Regions from separate parts of the Homo sapiens genome. Here region 1 is linked to region 2. Evidence: promoter capture Hi-C in human tissues and cell types (Jung and others, 2019). All regions are on one chromosome and are shown on one strand. The core of a region is centred on a gene start or on the middle of the fragment in contact, and the rest is flanking DNA. Distances in the headings are between cores, read along the strand shown.

Evidence for each region. The method cuts DNA at HindIII sites, captures the fragments that hold promoters and counts their contacts. A contact is called where the count stands out against the background at its distance.
Region 1: a contact is called between a fragment that was not itself captured here and the fragment with the promoter of ZNF12 in region 2, in 1 of the 25 tissues and cell types used here (dorsolateral prefrontal cortex).

What each region holds. Positions count from the first base shown.
Region 1 is chr7:7,187,925-7,190,624 of GRCh38, forward strand. All of the region lies in intron 1 of C1GALT1 (core 1 synthase, glycoprotein-N-acetylgalactosamine 3-beta-galactosyltransferase 1), which reads left to right. Among named protein-coding and RNA genes, the nearest start is that of C1GALT1, 6.7 kb to the left of the region's middle. The HindIII fragment of the contact is 8,882 bases long and covers 1-2,700 here.
Region 2 is chr7:6,705,572-6,708,271 of GRCh38, forward strand. ZNF12 (zinc finger protein 12) reads right to left here and starts at 1,376. Exons shown (of 5, transcript NM_016265.4): 1 at 861-1,376. RefSeq lists a silencer at 992-1,351 and an enhancer at 1,045-1,544. The HindIII fragment of the contact is 19,528 bases long and covers 1-2,700 here.

The DNA of each region.
Region 1 (2,700 bases), core at 14-2,513, 480 kb after region 2:
TTGTCTTGTAGGCAGTGGAGTTCCGTGAAAGGATTCATGGGGTGACATGGTCAGCTTTTCATTTTAGAGAGCTCATTCTGGTGACGGGGTATGAGTTAAAGAGGGATAGCACTTGAGTCAGAGAGGTTAGATATTGTAATAGCCTGTGGGGAGAGAGGAGAGTCTGAAATAGGATAAATACTAGAAATGGAGAGGAGACAATGGATTAGAATAATATTTAGGAAGTAATGTTGGCAAGACTTGGTAATTGGATTTGGGGTGAAGATAAGGGAAGCATTAAGAATATCTGTGTACTTTGTAGTTTAGATAATCCTGTGGCTCTGAGTGAAATAGGAACCCATTGGTGAATAATTTAGGTAATTACCAGTAATTAAGGTAAAATGAGCAGAGGAAAGTAATGAGTCACTTTGGAGGTGTTGAATTAGAGATGCCTATGGTCCAGGTGGAAGTATTTAGCAGGCATTTGTGTATGTGAATCTGAAACTTGGAGAAGTCTGAAAGGATCAAGAGATCATTTTGTTTGACAAGTGTGGAGAAATTAGTGGACTTTAATTTTTATCATATTATTTCACTCTGTAGATAAAAATTGCCTCCCTTTATTTAATTTTTATCAGAAAAGTAATGTGTGTACCCGATGCAAAATTAAAACATCAAAAGGTTATAAAATAAAAAAAAATTTGTCCTTCCTTGCTCATGCCACCCAGTGCTAGTTCCCAGAGATAGCTCTTGTTAAATATCATATGTATATATATCTTAACAGATTTTAAAATATATACAGAAACATTTAAAAAGCCAAGTGAAATCATACTAGAAAATATTTCGGTACATTGTCTTAAAAAATAAACCTTTTATCTTATACAGTTGTTAAAATGAATGACATTGTGTTATGGATAAAATAAGTGAAGGGGTAAATTAAAGTGCAGACTAACCGATAAGCATGATCTCTGATGTAAATTAAAAGCTGAACATACATATGTGATGATATAGGCATTACCCAACGATACGAAAGCAGTTACTTTTGGGGAGAGATAGTGGTAGAGATGGTAAAGAAAATTTACTCTTTTCTGTCTATGATTTTCTTTCATTTGTTTAGGTTTGTTCCTTTTGTTTTCTTTACATTTTCTGATGTTTAAAAAAATACCCAGTATACCTTATTAACAATAAAAAGTAACCTTTGTCAAAAGCACAAAGATTTTCCCTATCAGCACATGTAGATCATTGTTTTTAACAGCTACTACTATTCTATGCTATGGCTCTATCTTTTTTTTAAAAAACTGGTTCCTCATCAACAGACAGACGTCTTATGGTTATGGCTGTCGAGCATCTTGGCTGACTTCTATGATTATATCTGTAAAATAAGTTTCTGATCATGAAGTGATATATCAAGGCATAATTAGTTAAAAATTTAAAAAGATGTTGTGAAATGCCCTTCCAAAAGACAGTAAAAGTATGTATTATGAGAAAGAATACAGGACTACCAGTTTTCTTGTATCTGTGTCAATAACAGCTGTTAATAAACTTTAAAAGTTTTGCCAATATGTTAGGTTAAAAATAATATCTCTTCATTTGATTTACCTTTGTGAGTGAAATTTGAACATCGTTGACCATTTTTTACTGTGAATCTTTTATTTTCTTTATCTGTTTTTGTATTTGGTTAACTATCTTTTTTATTATTTATGATACTTTTTGGTTCTTTTTGCTGTACATTAAAAAAATATATTTCATAAAGAAATATGCCCTTTAACCAGCGACTTCATTGCCAGAAGTTTATCCAATGAATAAACTCATAGTGTTTTAATAGTCACAGCTTCTGAGTGTGGGAGAGATCTCAATTCGTAATATCAAAATGCAAAAATATATTTTCTTCCAGTTTTGTTTTAATTCCATTTTCTAAAATACTGAAATCTTAGAAACATTTGAAATTGTTACTAGAAAGTAAGGATCCAGCTGGTTTTGTTTTTTTTTCCCCAAAAGATTAATTAATTCAATACCATTTCTTCAATAAGCCACCTTTTTCTTGATTTGAAATGCTGTTTATTATGTATTAAATTTCCACATGAATTTTTGTTTTCCATAGAGTCTTTATTTCAACCTGATGAAGTCCCTTTATAAGATTCATCTGGTAGAGACCACCAGGGACACATCTGTAGGCTGACAAAGGTTAATTAGCTTGCTGCAGTGAAGGAGACTTGCACAGCAGAGGAAATGTCAGCATTTCTAAAGAAGGAACCAGGGTTATTATAGGATTTTGGAGAATGGTGGAGTTTGGATAAAGTTTAAACGCAACAATATTTGATAAGCTTAAAGCACGGCAAGACTGTGTGTCAAGGGTTAATAAACATCAGGCCTGGGCTGAGAAGCTGACTCAGGATTCTGATTCCCTGGAGACTACAAAATCGCGATACATGTGGAATGTTGTGTCTGGAAACCCCTTATCTGAAGCTCTGAGTTGCAAAGTGAGGTTGCTTCTGTTTCATAATGATCTACCATCAGTGCGAGAGTGGGATGTTCCATTCTCACTTTATAAAATTTCAAATAACATAGTTTCTGACAGTCTGATGTAGAGAACAGTTTCTCAGCACATTGTCTTTAGTATTAACAAATGCATTTTTTTAAACAGACTGAGAGTTTGTTCAGCATAAATACCAAATTGTTTTCATTACCTTTTTTAAGGTAATATATTTTTATATGTAGTAAACT
Region 2 (2,700 bases), core at 126-2,625:
AGCTGGGCGTGGTGGCGGGCGCCTGTAACCCCAGCTACTCGGGAGGCTGAGGCAGGAGAATCGCTTGAACCCGGGAGGCGGAGGTTGCAGTGAGCTGGGATGGCACCATTGCACTCCAGCCTGGGCAACAAAGCGAAACTTGTCTCAAAAACAAACAAACAAACAAACAAAAAACAAACAACAAAAAATGAATTCTGTAATACTCATCTATTTTCTTACTCTTTTAAATAAAGATCAGAAAATCCACAGGATGCCCTAAATAAAGGAATACAGTCGGCATAATTGAGTCTTTATTTGCAGAAACTTCAGTGTGCTACTCAAAAGGATCTTTTATTGAAGAACTTACGCTCACTTAACTAGGATACGGGGGACAGAACACTGGCCTGGGAGATAAAACTCCAGAGTTCTACTATGAGCAACTCCACCCACAAAACCTCGGACAAGTCACCCACCTGCTAAGGCCCTTCCCCTAGCAAATGAGGCAGCAAGAGATAGTTCCTGCAGGCTGTTCCTGCACTACAACGTATGATTCCACAAGAGCAGACCTAAGGGGGAATCAGCACTTAAATGAGAGAACAGAGGTGCTGACGGACGTTTAGATACGGTAGCAATCTGGAGCAGAGAGAGGAGGAAGGGCTGCTGGGGTGAGGGGGGAGTGGAGACAACGTCCGCAGCTGAGGCTGGTGACACCCCCCACGCCCCCGTAAGCCTCGTCCTCGCCGGACCCTGCCTTCAAACCCAAACACACGTCACTCCTGCAAGCGATCGAGACCTTCCACTGTCCCTCACTCTAAGGTGCCCTACACGCGGTGACTTCACCCAGGCCCTTCTCGCCCCGGGCCCGCAAACCCACGACTTACCCTCCTGGGGCTCCGCAGCCTCTGCCCCACCGCTCCCGACAGGCCGGGGCGGGATTGCTGTCGCGGGCGCGCGTCTGCTCGCGAGGTCCCTTCCTGTCCACCTCACCAAGGCCGTTCTGCTCCAGAGGGGCCCGGGCCGGGCCTACGGGACAAATCCAGGCGGGGCGTCCCTCCCGGAGCCCAGATCCGTCTCCCTGGGGCTCACCGTCCTGCGGAGCCGGGGCCGGGCCGTCGAGGACGCACACGGGCCGGGCCCGGGTCCCGCCGCCCCTTCGCCTCCGCCGTCGTCACCGCCCGGCCGGCCCCTTGGGCCCCAGCGCCGTCGGCTCCGGGGGTCGTGCTCGGGGATCCCCGCTTGAGCCTCCGCCTGGCCCGCACAGCCCCGCGCCCGCTTGGGTGCCGGCCCGGCTCTTCGGCGCCCAGCCCCGCAGGCTCCGCGATTCTCGCCCACCGGAGGCCAAAGCCTGGGAACTAGGGCGAGCGGTGACCTGGGGACGCACAGGAAGCGAGGGCACTGCGGCCGCGGCGCGCATGCGCGAACACGCACACAGAGAGGGGTGCACATGCGCAGGAATGCACCGGAAGTCCGCCTCCCGGGACCCGCCGCCGGTCCCAGGACAAATACCGTGACTCTATTTCCCATGAGCCTACGCGCTCCCCAAATTTAGGAGCCATTTGAAATGTCTCTATCTGGTCTAGCGGTTAAGAGGCTCTATGCTAAGAGAATTGGCAACGCCGAACCCCAGACTCAAATTTCTCCTTAGTTTAAGGGAACGTCTTCATGGGGATGTCTTGACTATCTTTAAGGGAACGTCTAGAAAGTCTCTGCTTCCTGTAGCATCTCGTAGACCATGCCTGGGCCAGTCCTGCCTTACCGGAGAGCTCAAGGCTTAAAATCAATGTCCATGTGCAACCGTGACAAATGGAACAAGAGGGTGCATCATGCTAGCTTATGATCACAATGACACATTTAACGAAAACTTCAGTAAATAGAGCCCATGGATGAAATAATAGAGGATTAGCCTGGGACAGGATACCATCCTCGCCCCAACAAGGAGAAAAAGAATTCCAGCTTTTCCAAATCACTTTGAATTAGTGATAGCTAGAAAACTCAGAGAATATGTACAGAATTGAAAGAAGAAAAAAATTAGCCAGAACTCTACTTCCTGAAGAGGATGAGGCAAGCAGAAGAAGAAATTTGCGTCTTAATGGAAAACGAAGCACATTTAGAAAGCCATGTTACTTGATTCCAACCCTGTTCCTTATCTTTGAGGTATTTTACACCTCTTTGAAAACTGTAGGTAATCGATGCAAGTTATGTTCTGTCTGGTGGAAGTTGGTTGACTTCCCACAATCCCCACTAGAGAAAATGCAGTTTTGACTGCATTTCTCCATTTACATAATCATTTCAATATTCCTGATCTGAAAATATGTCTGTTTCTCAGATTCTCTCTCTCTCTCTCTTTTTTTTTTTAATTTTGAGACAGGGTCTCACTCTGCTGTGCATGCTGGAGTTCAGTGGCGAGATCTTGGCTCACTGGTTCAAGGAATTCTCCTGCCTCAGCCTCCCAAGTAACTGGGATTACAGGTGCACACCACCAAGCCCGACTAATTTTTGAATTTTTAGTAGAGATGGGGGTTTCACCATGTTGGCCAGGCTGGTCTTAAACTCCTGACCTCAAGTGATCCACCCGCCTCAGCCTCCCAAAGTGCTGGGATTACAGGCATGAGCCACCATGTCCAGCCCTCAGATTCTCTTTTGAACCAGTTATAATATCTGCCTGTTTCCTCTTGAATTAAATAAAATCTTTAGCATGTGCTCATTTTTATATCTGTATCA